3 separate regions of the Homo sapiens genome follow, and all the other regions are linked to region 3. Evidence: promoter capture Hi-C in 16 types of primary human blood cells and fetal thymus (Javierre and others, 2016). All regions are on one chromosome and are shown on one strand. The core of a region is centred on a gene start or on the middle of the fragment in contact, and the rest is flanking DNA. Distances in the headings are between cores, read along the strand shown.

The links. Contacts are between HindIII fragments. The CHiCAGO score rates a contact against its expected background, and 5 or more counts as called.
Region 1: a contact is called between a fragment that was not itself captured here and the fragment with the promoter of PPP4R1 in region 3, in 1 of 17 cell types (non-activated CD4 T cells). The highest score is 6.6, in non-activated CD4 T cells.
Region 2: a contact is called between a fragment that was not itself captured here and the fragment with the promoter of PPP4R1 in region 3, in 3 of 17 cell types (total CD4 T cells, activated CD4 T cells and total CD8 T cells). The highest score is 6.0, in total CD4 T cells.

Annotation. Positions count from the first base shown.
Region 1 is chr18:9,063,589-9,068,517 of GRCh38, reverse strand. It overlaps LOC124904243 (a long non-coding RNA gene), which reads left to right and starts at 2,727. Exons shown (of 2, transcript XR_007066278.1): 1 at 2,727-3,180. RefSeq lists an enhancer at 1,647-1,866. The HindIII fragment of the contact is 788 bases long and covers 1,958-2,745 here.
Region 2 is chr18:8,697,703-8,702,518 of GRCh38, reverse strand. All of the region lies in intron 1 of GACAT2 (gastric cancer associated transcript 2), which reads left to right. Among named protein-coding and RNA genes, the nearest start is that of MTCL1, 5.4 kb to the left of the region's middle. The HindIII fragment of the contact is 4,632 bases long and covers 1-3,979 here.
Region 3 is chr18:9,610,903-9,615,808 of GRCh38, reverse strand. It overlaps PPP4R1 (protein phosphatase 4 regulatory subunit 1), which reads left to right and starts at 1,250. Exons shown (of 20, transcript NM_001042388.3): 1 at 1,250-1,331; 2 at 1,539-1,583. The coding sequence starts at 1,325. It overlaps PPP4R1-AS1 (PPP4R1 antisense RNA 1), which reads right to left and starts at 1,002. Exons shown (of 3, transcript NR_110773.1): 1 at 795-1,002. RefSeq lists silencers at 554-1,063, 1,164-1,433, 1,534-1,783 and an enhancer at 2,054-2,133. The HindIII fragment of the contact is 7,461 bases long and covers 1-3,696 here.

The DNA of each region.
Region 1 (4,929 bases), core at 1,102-3,601, 550 kb after region 3:
GTGGGAGGAGGAGGGACATAAGAGACTGGAGGAGAAAGGCAAGGCGTGGGAGAGACAGTGGAGAGCTGGAAGAGGAACTTTCTTATTGTGTTTTTAGGGGAAATGTTTCATCAAAGGCTGCTGTGCCTACCACTCCTAATGGATGAGATGATTTTAGGTGGTAAACAGTTGAACATATGAAATTTCAGAACAAAAAATGAAAAAAGATGAAAATAAAATAAATTTAAAAAAGAAATAAAATGTCAGGTCATGCGTGGTGGCTCACACCTGTAATCCCAGCACTTTGGGAGGCCGAGGCAGGTGGATTGCTTGAGTTGAGGAGTTTGAGACCGGTCTGGGCAAGGCGGCAAAACCATGAGAACAGATTGGGGTTGGGTTGGGCTCAGTTTCTGACATAATCGTTCAGGATTGGAAGGCATGTGAGGCAAAGGTCCTTAGGAGTAAACTTGTCTAATAAACGAGCTCTTTGCCCAGGTAAGCAAACTGCCTGCCCAAATACATTGATTTGCAGGAATTTTCTGAAGCAAATTGCCAAGTTACATATTGGCTTACAGTCTTATTTTCCTGGGCGAGTGTTTCCTGGAAAAAAAGCTGTGTCATATTGACATTGATGGACTCAGTGCTTATAATTATTTGTTTAGTTAATGTGTGTTTGAAAATATATAACTAGGCCGGGTAAGGTGGCTCACACCTGTAATCCCAGCACTTTGGGAGGCCAAGGTGGGCAGATCACCTGAGGTCTGGAGTTCCAAGACCAGCCTGGCCAACATGGTGAAACCTCGTCTCTACCAAAAATACAAAAATTATCCATGTGTGGTGGTGCACGCCTGTAATCCCAGCTACTTGGGAGACTGAGGCACAAGAATCACTTGAACCCAGGAGGCGGAGGTTTGCACTCCAGCCTAGGCAACAGAGTGAGACTCTGTCTCAAAAAAAAAAAAAAAAAAAGGAAAGAAAGAAAGAAAAGAAAATATATAACTAGTGACATTTTGAGGTGGATGATTCAAATAAAATAAAAAACTAAACAAAAAATAAAAAAAAAAGTAAATATATAACTAGCATATCCAACCACTGATCTTGAAGGTAATATTATTTAGGGCAACACTGAAGAATATTGGGTTTAAAGTTAAAAACTAAGTGATTTAAAGAAAAATACATTAAATAACTAATAGTACGGATGATACTTATTTATCTATGACAAAAATTGTGACCACTATAAATGAAAGACTGAAATGTGAAAAGCACGGCTCAACACTGTCAGAATATCTCGGTAGGGTCTAGGCTAGAGGACAGCCCTAGCACAGGGGAAGGTGTGTAACTCATAGGTGAATCATCAGAAAGAACCAGGGGAAGAGAGTGGGGTTGCAGAGCTGGTCACCTGATCTGGGAGGGACATGAACACCCACTGGGTTTGGTGTCATTTCTGTTGTGCAAATGAACTGAGAATTAGAAAAGTCCCCCTGGCTGGAAACAGAGTTTGTAGTGGACCTACTTGGGTCTAAAGCTTTCAAATAGGAAGTAACAGTTGGGTTGGAAGATCCCATGAAAGGCGGTTGGGTTCCCCAAGAGAGGCACCTGCCATCGCGGTCACCAGGCCCCACTGAGAACAGGCCAGGTGCCAACTGAACAGCATAGTGAAGAGGGGCTGAAATTCATTTAAGGTCAAGCCAGCCTATATGGCTTGGTGAGGAATATTTTGGACAAACTGAGAAGGACAGAAGGCAAAGGCAAGGGCAGCTTCTGGTTTTCTAGGAGTCTGAGCCAAAGAAACTTCCAGGGTGGAGCTGGTATAGGGAAAAGGTAACATCCAAATCAATGCAGGCCAAGGTTAGCTTGAATCCAAGAAGAGGAACCTTTGGGACCAGACAGGGTAGGGCCTTAGGTAGAAACCCCAGCAACCAGGGCAGAATTCTGAGCAACTGCTGTTCTCAGGTGGCTGCTGAGACCAAATAAAGCTTGGTCCTGAGTCAGCGGCTGATGTAGTAAAAAGGGAGCAAGCACGGATGTGGGTTCTGAAAGTTGCTAAGAATCTCACTACCGGGAATCACCTGGGGGCCTAAACCTTAGGTAGCTTTACCAGCATTCTATTCCAGCCAAATCCTAGAGTAAAACCTAGAGAATCCTGAAAGAAGACATTCTAAAAGTAACCGTAGGCCAGGCGCCATGGCTTATGCTCATAATCCCAACACTTAGGGAGGCCGAGGCGGGAGGGTTGCTTGAGCCCAGGAGTTCAAGGCTGCAGTGAGCCAGTGAGCTTGGGAGATAGAGCGATACCTTGTCTCAAAAAAAAAAAAAAAAAAAGTAATCCTAGCCCTAGTACCTTTCCTTCAAGACAAGGACAAAATATTGTTGATATTCTGCAAATCCACGATTTCTAGTGGTTCTTGTAACAGCTGCAGTGTTACTCACTGCCTTGTTAACTCCTTGTTAGCTCCCCCGACCAGTGTTGCACGTTGCACTGTGGCTGGAGCATGGCTGCATGGTCAGACTGTTTAGGTACACATGAATGTTCCATCATTCAGTACTCAGAGCACCTCAGACAAGTCACTTACCCTCACTGAGGCTGAGATTTTTGCATTTGTACCTACTTCGTGGAGGTACTGTGAAGTGGGAGTGACAGAATTTATGTAGAATGCTCAGCACATGGTGAGCACGTCATAAATATTAGCTGTTAGCTCTTACTTTATTTATTCATTTATTTATTTTAATCTTTTTTTTCTTTCTAGCTCTCATTTTAATAAAGCTTTAAGGGGATTTTTGATTTGGGATTTTTACTTCCCCTGGACCTGGAGGAAGAGAAAGGAAGGTCAATGAGAGCGTGATGACGGTGCAGAGGCACCTAGGCAAAGCTCTGTGGCCTTTGGGAAAAGACACTACTTGGCTCAGGGCATTAAATACATGTGTGACCTTAATTCTTCTGTCAAAACAACAACAACAAAATCCCCAAACTATGAAAAGCCACAGACTTCTAGGAATAGAAGACAAAAGGAGGAAGGAGGAGGAGGAGGAAGATACCAAGGGGAAAATGATGTGAAAAGCTGATTTTGTAGCCCTGAGCATATAGGAAAAGCCTCCATGGTGATGACTTCTTTGAATAAATGTTGCTTAAAGAAAAAGAAGGCACCAGAAAGAGCAGAAAACAACTGGGTGAATGAAAGAAGAATGTCATGCAGAGGAGAGGTATGTGCAAATGCAGATATTCCATGAAAAGCTATAGCTTTTTTTTTTTTTTTTTTCTTTAGGGAGTTTCACTCTTGTTGCCCAGGCTGGAGTGCCATGGCATGATCTCAGCTCACTGCAACCTCCACCTCCCAGGTTCAAGCGATTCTCCTGTGTCAGCCTCCTGAGTAGGTAGGATTACAGGCACCCACCACCATGACTGGCTAATTTTTGTATTTTTAGTAGAGACAGGGCTTCACCATGTTAGCCAGGCTGGTCCCAAACTCCTGACCTCAGGAGATCTACCCACCTCAGCCTCCCAAAAGTGCTGGGATTATAGGCGTGTGCCACCACACCTGGCTAATTTTGTCTTTTTAGTAGAGACAGCGTTTCATCATGTTGTTCAGGCTGGTCTCGAACTCCTGACCTCAGGTGATCCACCCACCTTGGGCTCCCAAGGTGCTGGGATTACAGGCGCGAGCCACCGCCTGTATAGATTTTATGTGAGTATAATTGTAATTTTGTGAAACATGTATCTACATTCATAATAATTAGAAGAAAATTTAGAATAATTAAAATAAATTGTTCGGTAAATATTTAAAGATACTTAATCACCTAAAAAGTATAAAACAGCCTATAATCCCAGCACTTTGGGAGGCCGAAGAAGGTGGATTGTTTGAGTTCAGGAGTTTGATACCTGCCTGGGCAACATGGCAAAACCGAATCCCTAGAAAAAAAAATACAGAAAATTAGTCAGGTGTGGTGGCGTGCCTGTGATCCCAGCTACTCAGGAAACTGAGGTGGGAGGATCGCTTGAGCCCAGGAGGTTGAGACTACAGTGAGCTGTGGTTGTGCCACTGCACTCCAGCCTGGGCAACAGAGCAAGACCCTGTCTCAAAAACAACAACAACAACAACAACTGTTTAAACAAAAAAAGACAAAACTGTGTTCCCATAGGAACGTTGTTTTTGTTGAGTCCCAGGCTATAACTTTTTTTACAATTTTATTTTATTTACTTATTTATTTAGGATACAGAGTTTTACTGTCAGAGGCTGGAGTGCAGTGGCACAATCTCAGCTCACAGCAACCTCTGCCTCCCGGGTTCAAGGAATTCTCCTGTCTCAGCCTTCCGAATAGCTGGAGTTACAGGCACCCGCCACTACGCCTGGCTAATTTTTGTGTTTTCAGTAGAGACAGGGTTTCACCATGTTTGCCAGGCTAGTCTTGAGCTGCCGACCTCAGGTTATCTGCCCATCTCGGCCTCCCAAAGTGCTGGGATTACAGGTGTGAGCCACAGCGCCTGGCCCGAGGCTATTATTTTTGATAAGAAAATGTTTTGTGATTTTGCATTTGCCTAGGAAGGCAATGACTGACACATCTGACACATTTATAATCACAAATTAAAACAAAAGCACCAGAACTCCCCAGGTCAGATAGGATGCTGGGTATGCCAAATTGGAGCATGCAGGATGTCAGACGACTTCTCTGAGGGCACTTATATTTCCTTATTTCTTTATTCGCATCTGGTTCTCCTTTGTTACTCTGTAATGCCCTATACTTCTCCAAATACAGCACTTACCCACTGTATTATAAGTACCTGTTGATTTGTCTCTCTCTCCCCCTTGAACTGCAATTGAAAAAAGTAAATGATAAATATGAGTAGAATTAATGAATTCAACAACAATTTATTAGATACCTAGTGTATGACAGACAGCTTTTAGGCATTGGGGTTTGGAGCACAGTGGCAAATAGAATCCCTGACTTCATGGA
Region 2 (4,816 bases), core at 414-2,913, 910 kb after region 3:
CATGGTGGCATACACCTGTAGTTCCAGCTACTTGAGAGGCTGAGGCAGGAGGCTCCCTCAAGCCCAGGAGGGGAGGTTGCAGTGAGCCATGATCATGCCACTGCACTCCAGCCTGGGTGATGGGAGTGAAACCCTGTCTCAAAAAAATGGGAAGGAAGGAAGGGAGGGAAGGAGGCAGGGAGGGAGGGAGGGAAAGAAGGGAAGGGAAGGGAGGAAGGGAAGGAGGGAGCAAAGAAAGGAAATACTTGATTTTAAATTCTTTTTCTGTTAAATCAAATTAATCTAAAGGTAATAGAGGATTTACTATTTAAGGGAACCATAGAGTGCTTATTCTGTGAAATAACAAAACCCAGCATGGGCGTGCCTGTTTTCATCTGCGTGCCCTCAGATCCAGTCTTGCCCCTCTGCTACTCTGATGTGAGTGGAAGTGTGGGTTTCCAGGCCGCTGGGTTTGCTGATTGGGTTTGGCCAGTGGAGGTGCCGTCAGGAGATGGGAGTGGACCCAGAAGGAAGAAACCAGGTTATTTCTTACTCTCTCTGCTGCAGGCGGCTTCTCTGGCAGTGGCTGGGTCTCTGTGAGGAGTGGATTTCTGAGGTTCCAGCCATCACTGGATGGACTACTCCTCCTGGTAGCTTTTCGTCCTCCACTGCCTCGTATCAAGGGTGGTGGTGCCTTCCTGTGCTTGCAGATCTCCGGGTTGCTTCACTGTGGCTGATTCCCTGCATTGCAACCCTGGATTGTAAATGCTGGCACAAGGCCCAGGGCCCCATCGTCTCATTCCTCTGCAGAGGCCCAAATACTGTCCTAGGGAGCTGCGTGCAGCAGTGGTGTGATGAGTAATGTTTGTGTGGCTGTGTTCACAACCTCTTTGTCCAAGAACGGTGTGGTATGGTGACAAGACCTGAGGCTTTGACACCAGGTAAATCTGGGTTCAAATCCTGCCCAAGTCATTTGCTGTCTGTGTGGCCTTGGGTAAGGTATTGTTATCAAGTCATCATCATCATTTAACACCAGTGAAATAATCTTCAGAATCATCATCATTATTTAACACCAGTGAAATAATCTTCAAAACTCTTAAAATATGAGCAAACCAGATTTTTCACTCAGATTCCAAACTCTCACTCAGAGAGTTAGAAATCTATTCTGTGTCTATACAGTTATATAAAGAGAAATGAATTCTTTTTTTACTTGGTTTGACTCATAGACAAAAAAAAAAATGTGACTTACTCAGGACTATACTTCACTCTATACTCCCAGGCAGAATTATATGCAGAATTTCTATACCTTTAATACATTGTCCAAACCCAGGCATATGTGTATCTTCCAGTTTTTCCCCTTATTTTAACAGAAAGGCACATTTAAAATATGAAAGCATTCCTGGTTGAAGTCATGAGAAATCATGAAATCATACTCTTTGAAAAGAATGGAAAGAAGAGGGAATTTTTCAGAGTGAGTGGCTTTTTGGGCACTGCAAGAAAGTTAACCTTAAAAAGAGACAACCTAATAATGCCTGATCCCCCCGCCTCCCCACCACCCGCCAAGGTTGAAGCTGGAGTCTGCATCCAACACTGGGGTCTGTGGGGACCTCCCAGCTCTCTTTGCAAGGGTGATTGCCAAAATGCCACATGGGACCTGAAAAAGGCTTCATGTCCAGATTGGCAGCTGTGCATGGCATTGGTGGTGACAATGACAATAACTTAAGAGGCTCTTAAACCTTGAGGTCATTAAAATCTCCTGGTGAGACTGTTAAAAATGCAAATTATCTGGCCACATCCCCAGGGATCTGATTTAAGAGATATGAGCCCAGAAAGCTGTATTATTATTATTATTATTATTATTATTATTATTATTATTATTTTGAGGTGGAATCTTGTTCTGTTGCCCAGGCTAAAGTGCAGTGGAACGATCTTGGCTCACTGCAACCTCCGCCTCCTGGACTCAAGCGACTCTTCTGCCTCAGCCTCCTGAGTAGCTGAGATTACAGGTATCCGCCACCACGCCCAGCTAATTTTTTGTATTTTCAGTAGAGACAGGGTTTCGCCATGTTGGCCAGGCTGGTCTCAAACTCCTGACCTCAAATGATCCGCACGCCTCAGAGTCCCAAAGTGCTGGGATTACAGGTGTGAGCCACTACGCCCGGCCGGAAGGCTGTATTTTTAACAAATACTTTTGATGCAAGTAATTATCTTACTTCCCATTGAAAAACACTGTGTTAGTGTTTCTTTTTTCTCTCTTCCTTCTTTTTTTTTTTTTTTTTTTTTTAAAAAGACAAGGTTTTGCTTGGTCACCCAGGCTGGAGCAGAGTGTGCAATCATAGCTCACTGCAGACTCCAAATCCTGGGCTCCAGTGATCCTCCCACCTCAGCTTGCCAAGTAGCTGAGACCACAGACACATGTGTTAGTGTTTCTACACAGGTCCAAGTGTCACATGGCTTGTCATGTGCGTTCTTCCTATTTCTGTTCAAAACTCCTTCCAATACTGTGCGGGATGACCCACCTCTATGCATGTGAGATGCTGGGTGATGGATATTTGCTCACTTAAATCTGAACTAGAGAGTCCCAACCTAAGGTGTGCTCTAGAGTCTGCTGGGAGAACAGGGGAGTCTCCCTGTGACATGAGAACCAGAGGAAGTAGAGAGGTGAAGGTGTAAGGAGGCCCTTTCCCTCCTGACCAGTGGTTCTTCATGGGGGTGGAAGCACCCACAGGGAGCATTCTAGACGTATATTGGGGTGTTTTCTCTTGTCATAACAACTGGATTGGAGGGCACTACTGGCATTTAAGTGAGGGAAGGGGAATAGTCAGGGGGGCTAGATATCTTGCAGTGTGCCCAGAGAAGGGTCGTCCTAGGCGGGATGAGGTGACTCACACTTGTAATCCTAGCACTTTGCGTGGCTGAGGTGGTGGATCACTTGAGTCCAGGAGTTTGAGACCAGCCTGGCCAACATGATGAAACCCTGTCTCTACTAAAAATACAAAAATTAGCCTGTCATGGTGGCATGTGCCCGTAATTCCAGCTACTCGGGAGGCTGAGGTGGGAGAGTCGCTTGAACCGAGGAGGCAGAGGTTGCAGTGAGCTGAGATCTCGCCACTGTACTCCAGCCTGGGTGATGGAGTGAGACTCCATCTCAGAAAAAGAAAAAAAAAAAGAGTCATCTCTCCTGCTACAGGACTTCCAAGTAAGAGTCCTCTGAAACATTCACGTGGGTAAAAAAATCTGTTTATCATTATCTAAGGCTAGAAGTACATGTTTTACACATAAACACAATACTTTTACATATAAAGCAGTATTTTTTAAGTTTTTAAAATATTTTTTAAAAGTTAATATAACTATTAATTGACAAATCATAATTATCATAATTACATTGACAGAGTACACCGTGTTGTTTTGATATATGTATACTAAAGCAGTATGTTTTTAGGGTTGTTTTACCATCAACTGAATTTTTTTTTAGGAATGAAACCACAGTAGAAATCAAGACTGGGCTGGGCACAGTGGCTCACGCCTATAATCCCAGCACTTTGGGAGGCCGAGGGCAGTGGATCATTTGAGGTCAGGAGTTTGAGACCAGCCTGCCTAACATAGCGAAACCCCATCTCTACTGAAAATACAACAAATTAGCCGGATGTGGTGGCACATGCCTGTAATTCCAGCTACTCGGGAGGGTGAGGCAGGAGAATCACTTGAACCCAGGAGGTGGAGGTTGCAGTGAGCCGAGATCGCACCACTGCACTGGGTGAGAAAGGGAGAGTCTGTTTCAAAACAACACAAAGAAAATAAAAATAAAATAAAGACTGCATTTTATTTGGAGATTTTCAATGCATTTTTTATCTTTGATCATTGCATTGAGGGAGTGCCACTCAAGGGACTGGAGTCATGAATAGAACCCACCTGTATTTGTCCGTGTTTTAGCAGTTGCTTCTATGTAGAGCATCTGACTACTTCATTATATATTTTGTAGTATATATGTACCTAAGCTTTATATATTGAAATAGATATTATTTTGTTATAAGTTGGTTTCTTATTATTTCTTTTTTGTATTACCATTAGAGAAGTATATCAGTTTTTAAAAATATACGGTTAGGGGAGTGACAACCACAAGTAGTGATTCTCATTTCAAGAAATTAAATGGCTACAAAACTGGTGTCCAGAATATATAAAGAACCCTTGCAACTCAGCAATAAAAAGACAAGTAACACAATTTTAAAATGTTCAAAGGATTTGAATAGACATTTCTTCAAAGAAGATATATAAATCACCAATGAGCATATGAAAATGTACTCAACTTCATTGGTCATTAGAGAAATGCAAATAGAAGTCACACCCATTAGGATGGCTAAAATAAAAAAAGATGAACAATAACAAATGTTGGCAAGTATGTGGAAAAATTAGAACCCTCATACACTGTGGATGGGAATGTAAAATGGTGCAGACACTTTGGAAAGTTGGCTATTCCTCAGAGATTTACCATATGACACAGCAATTCTACTCTTAGGTGTATACCCAAGACAATTAAAAAGATATATACAGGCCGGGCGCGGTGGCTCAGGCCTGTGGTCCCAGCACTTTGGGAGGCCGAGGCGGGTGGATCGCGGGGTCAGAAGATCGAGGCCGTCCTGGCTGATACGGTGGAACCCCGTCTCTACTAAGAGTACGAAAAATTAGCCGGGCGTGGTGGGGGGCGCCTGTGGTCCCAGCTACTTGGGAGGCTGAGGCAGGAGAATGGCGTGAACCTGGCGGGCGGAGCTTGCAGTGAGCCGGGATTGCGCCACTGCACTCCACCCTGGGCGACGGAGCGAGACTCCGTCTCAAAAAA
Region 3 (4,906 bases), core at 1-2,500:
CAACACATTGTCCTTGGTCAAGACTACAACGTAGAAAGGAACAAGCTAATTAACTACTTAGAATTCCCTCTCCTAAGAGACCACATCGCCAAAGTGGCACCATGACACAGCTTGGTGTTTTGTTGGTCACTTTAGGAGAACACCATTTTGGAGGCCTTGGGTGGAGCTGGAGATAGAGCCATGGAGGTAGAATCGTGTCGGAAAACCTGGGTTTAGCCCCATTTTGTACTTGGGCGTTTGAGCTAATCGCTTAAGTCACGTAAAACAACAAGACTAATAAAGTCTGGGATACAGACTTTAACACCTCAAGTGCTGCCAAAAGTATTTAGAAGACAAAGCGAATCATAGGCACCCTTCACCGAGCACCTCCTAGACATCAAGAACCATGCTAGGTTCCCTACATTCTTCATTTAATGCCAATAACCCCACGAGGCAGTTATCACCTTCATTCTACAAATGGGCCCCACTCCTACCAATTAACTGGCTGAATCAGGATCTGACCCCGGGCCTGCCAACGCTCCCGCTGGTGGATTGCCCGCCTTGTCAGCTCGAGTTGGCAGGACGTGGGAGTAAAAACCCGGCGCCCCAGCCTTCACCGTGCTGCACGAGGAAGCTGGCTAGGCAGGCATGACTTTGTCAGTCAACCATCCCGCAGCCGGGCCCTGGGCTTTGTTAGCAGCCACTTGGCGAGGGCCCCGGGCGGGTGGGGAGGCGGCGCTTCCTCCAAGAGGAGGTGGGACCCCGGCCCCGACGACCTCGGAGCCGCCCCCGGCCCCGGATCGCCGACGACGTACGTGCAGGCCTGGGGATGGGGCGCTGGCTGCGAGCGGCGCGCCCGCCGAGATGGCTGCGGCTGGCAGGGCGGTGGGCGAGGCCGGTGACCCAATAAAGCGGCCGGGCCGCGGGAGGCCCCGCCCGGCCGGGTTCCGGCACTCGCCGCAGGGTCCCGGCCGGCGGCAGGTTGCGCGCCCCCGTCCGCAGCGCTCGGCGTGAGGGCGGCTCGGGAGGAGGGTGTGAGCGCGCGTCGCCGGGCCGGGACCCGGCAAGCAGCGGGAAAGGCGGGAGGCGGGAGCGCCGGTCGCCCGGGAGCCGCGCGGAGGGGCAGGCGGGGCGGGGCGGGGCGCGGCCGGGGGCCCGGGCGGCCGGGAGCCGCGCCGCCCGCGGCAGGCCCGGGCCCTCGGCCCGCCCCGCGCGCGCGCCCCCGCCAGCCCGGCCCTCCTCCTCCCCGCCGCCCCTCCCGCGCGCGTCCACCGGCTCCCCGGCTCGCGCCGCTCCATGTAGCCCCGGCTCCCCGGGCGGCCGCGGAGGAGGGGGCGACCACAAGATGGCGGGTACGTGGCCCCCTGTTCTCCGGGCGGCGGCGGCTCCTCGAGCCCACCCGCCCTCCGCCGCAGCCCTGAGTGGCTGCCGGGCCGGGGCCGGCGTGGGGTCCCGGCGCGGGAAGGCGCCCCCGGGGCGGGGGGGAGGCGGGCGGGGGGGGGGCGTCGCGCCGGGCCCCGGGGCGCTGACCGGGCCTTTCTTCTCTCCCCTCGGCGCAGACCTCTCGCTGCTTCAGGAGGACCTGCAGGAGGACGCAGACGGATGTGAGTGGCCCGGCCTCGCGGTGGCCTGGCAGTCCGCGGGGAGCGGCCGGGGAGGGCGGGCGGCGGCGAGGCCTGGGCCGGGCCCTGGCTGGCTGAGGGGACGGTGGGCGAGGGCGGCCCCAGGCGGGCTGGGGTGGCGATCGGGGGGGAAAATCTCGCGTCCGTGAGGAAACGGCGCGCCCAGGTTCCGCTGGGGGAGGGAGACGCCCGGAGTAACGCCCAAGTTCGCTTTCCGCCCTTCGCTCTCTTCTCCCGGCGCCCCCGAATCGCCTGCGGGCTCAGCAGTGGCGCGGCTGTTTTGGAAGGAGAAGCGGTGGGGCAGGATTTGAAGTGGGGTTTGGGTGTGTTTCTGCCCCTGGTGTCCCCTTCCCCCGTCACTCTAGGAAGGAAGAGGCTCGCGCGGGAGGTGTGTTTCCTTAGAGTCGCTCTTCCAGGAGCGCCCGGGGGTCAGCCTGGGCCCCGGCTAGCCGTCTGGGCTCCCCGACCCGGTTTTGGATTGTTTGAGGATGACATACCTGTCATTTTACTTTGGCTGGTAGCAGTTTTCAGATGCTCCCGATTTGATTAGTGGATTACGAGAAGGTTAGAAGGTGTGGCCTCCGCAGGAATTACTAGGTTTGGAGAGCATATTTCTTTAATGCGGATGTTCAGAAATCACCCAGCCCTCCTTCAGTGTTAACAGTGCAGCTTTCCTTTGAGGTACTGAAGTTTTTAAAGAGTTGACGCTTTTATTTTTAAAAAGACAAAGTTTCTGACATTTCCTGATGGCGACGGAATTGATATTTAGAAAGGAATTTTTCGTCTTATATGTACTTTTCTAAGCCTCAGAAAATAATTTGGGTCACGATAGAAAAGACAAAAGAGTTAAGCAGGTTTGTATTGAAAGAAGTGACAAATTGCAGTTAACTTAAAATAGTTTCTATTCTTGCTAATCTTCCAAAATAGCGACCCATCAAAAAATCAATAGGTTTTGAGATGCATTTTAAAAATGCAGAGTGTGCAAAATATATAAGCGAAGATCATGGGATACATAAGGGACCAAGAAATTGTTCTGAGTTGAGATGATAACCATAGTAGGATTGTGGTCTGTTTAGTGGAAAGCCTACCGGATGCTGAGATTGACTGTCTAGTACCTGTATAAGTAATTTCAGAGATGGCTGCAGTTTGAAATTACTCTTTTAAATACTCTGTAGTTAATCCTTAGCATTGTCTAATGTGGTTCCCTTACTCAGAGTAAACTTAATTTTTAGATTCCTGGTTGTTTTGAGTAAAGTAAGGGGGATTTACTATTTAGATGGATTATCTGAAACGAGTAATTTATCTTTAAAGTAAATGAACCACATCCAAACTTTTGCTAAGTCTGTGTTTTTAGTGAGGTGGCTCAAAACAGCTCTCTTAAAGGGAGCAGTACTCATGTAGTGAAGGGCAGCTTTAACATTTTATTTAATGTTTACCTTAAGCCACTTATCTGCCTAATAGTAAGTTTGAGATATTATTTAAGGCATCTGTTGATTTCAGATCTCTTGCCAGGTTAGGATTGGAGAAATGGCCCTGATTATGTTACCTCGAGGAGGGCTTTTTATATTTATGTTCGACTTCGTAAATAGAAGATTCATTTATTCAGCAAGTATTTATGACTGGAGCAAAAACTTCTCACTCCTGAAGGATGAAATGCAGTCTCAGTTTCTTCCTTAGCCCCCAAGAAGCACAGTGTAGAGGGGAAGGCATACCTGTGAAAAATTCAACCATGAGTTTCAACACTCTGCCAGGTACTGGGGATGGAGCTTTGAGAAAGATGGGCACAACCCATGCCCTCTAGTGGTTTACAAGCAGTTTTGAATCTAGGTGTACAGTACAGTATTACAGTTACCACTGGAGCCAGGCTGCTCTGTTTGTCTTAGCAGTGTCTTTTTGGGCAGACTTGGGCAACTCACTTAACCTCCCTATGCCTCAGTTTTGTCATTTGTAAGTAGGCATAAGAAATATTACCTACTTCATAGAGTTGTTCAAGGCTGTACATGAGTTAGTGCCTCTGAAGCACTTGGAACAATTCCTGGTAAACAGCGATGATTATGATTATGTTTGCTGTTATGAGAAAAGAGCAAGGGAAGCTTAAAAGAAGAGCAGAGAAGGAAACACTGATGTTGAACCTTACAGAATGAAGGTACTTAAAGATGCTGCCAATGCTCGCAACTAAATTTTTTTTTTTTTTGAGATGGAGTTTCACTCTTGTTGCCCAGGCTGGAGTGCAAAATGGCGCGATCTCGGCTCACCGCAACCTCTGCCTCCCGGGTTCAAGTGATTCTCCTGCCTCAGCCTCCCAAGTAACTGGGATTACAGGCGTGTGCCACCACGCCTGGCTAATTTTGTACTTTTAGTAGAGACGGGGTTTCTCCATGTTGATCAGGCTGGTCTCGAACTCCCGACCTCAGGTGATCCACCTGCCTTGGCCTCCCAAAGTGCTGGGATTACAGGCGTGAGCCACTGCGCCCGGCTGCAACTAACTTTTTAAAGATTCTGTTTCCTGTGCATTTTAATTTAGGATAAAACAGACATTGAAGGCACAATAGTTATTTGCATATTCATAATTTGGTTGAAGGCTTTGTTAGAGTAATTGCTTATTTTTCTCAGTTACTAAAGTTTTTACAGGTGATACCTTTACCCAGAATATTCAGGAACAAAGGACTTTTGGACATATGGCCAGTTGAAGGACCACTTCCCATCTCTTGTGAAGGGAGAAAGAATGAGGGGGAACACTGGGCCATGGTGCCTCCTTAGAGAGCAAGATGGTTGGTAAAGGACTGAGACAGCTGTCACATCCTGGAGAAGCTGGAGAAGGTAGAGGACCCAAAGGTAGAGGAACGGAGCTTGGGCTGCCCTTATAACACGGTTGTTATCTCGTGAGCCTGAGTTTCTCTGTCTATGGTAAAACTCCAGAGTATGGAGCCCAACCTCCAGAGTAGTTGTAAACAAGTCCTACTACTTCAGCCAAGCTAGGTGTAAGTTGGCCCTTGGGATGGGAAGAAATTGTTTTCTGGTCAAGCTCTAGAATCTTGGTTGACCTTCCTAAATGCAGAACCTGGACTATGAGGGAAGAGACAGTAAGTTCTGTTGTGCAGATGATCTAGGAAAGGACCTAGCTGGAGTCTAGGACTTGAAAGAGGGGCATTGCCAGACATTGCTAAGAGTCTCAGGTCTTTCGATTTGATTTGTTTTAATCCCGTCTCTGTACAGAGGCACAGAGTCGGGGAAAAGGTTGGTCAAAGACTGACTTGACTGATAACCTTTGGAGGAAAAAAAATCCTAATGAGGGAAAAATGGAT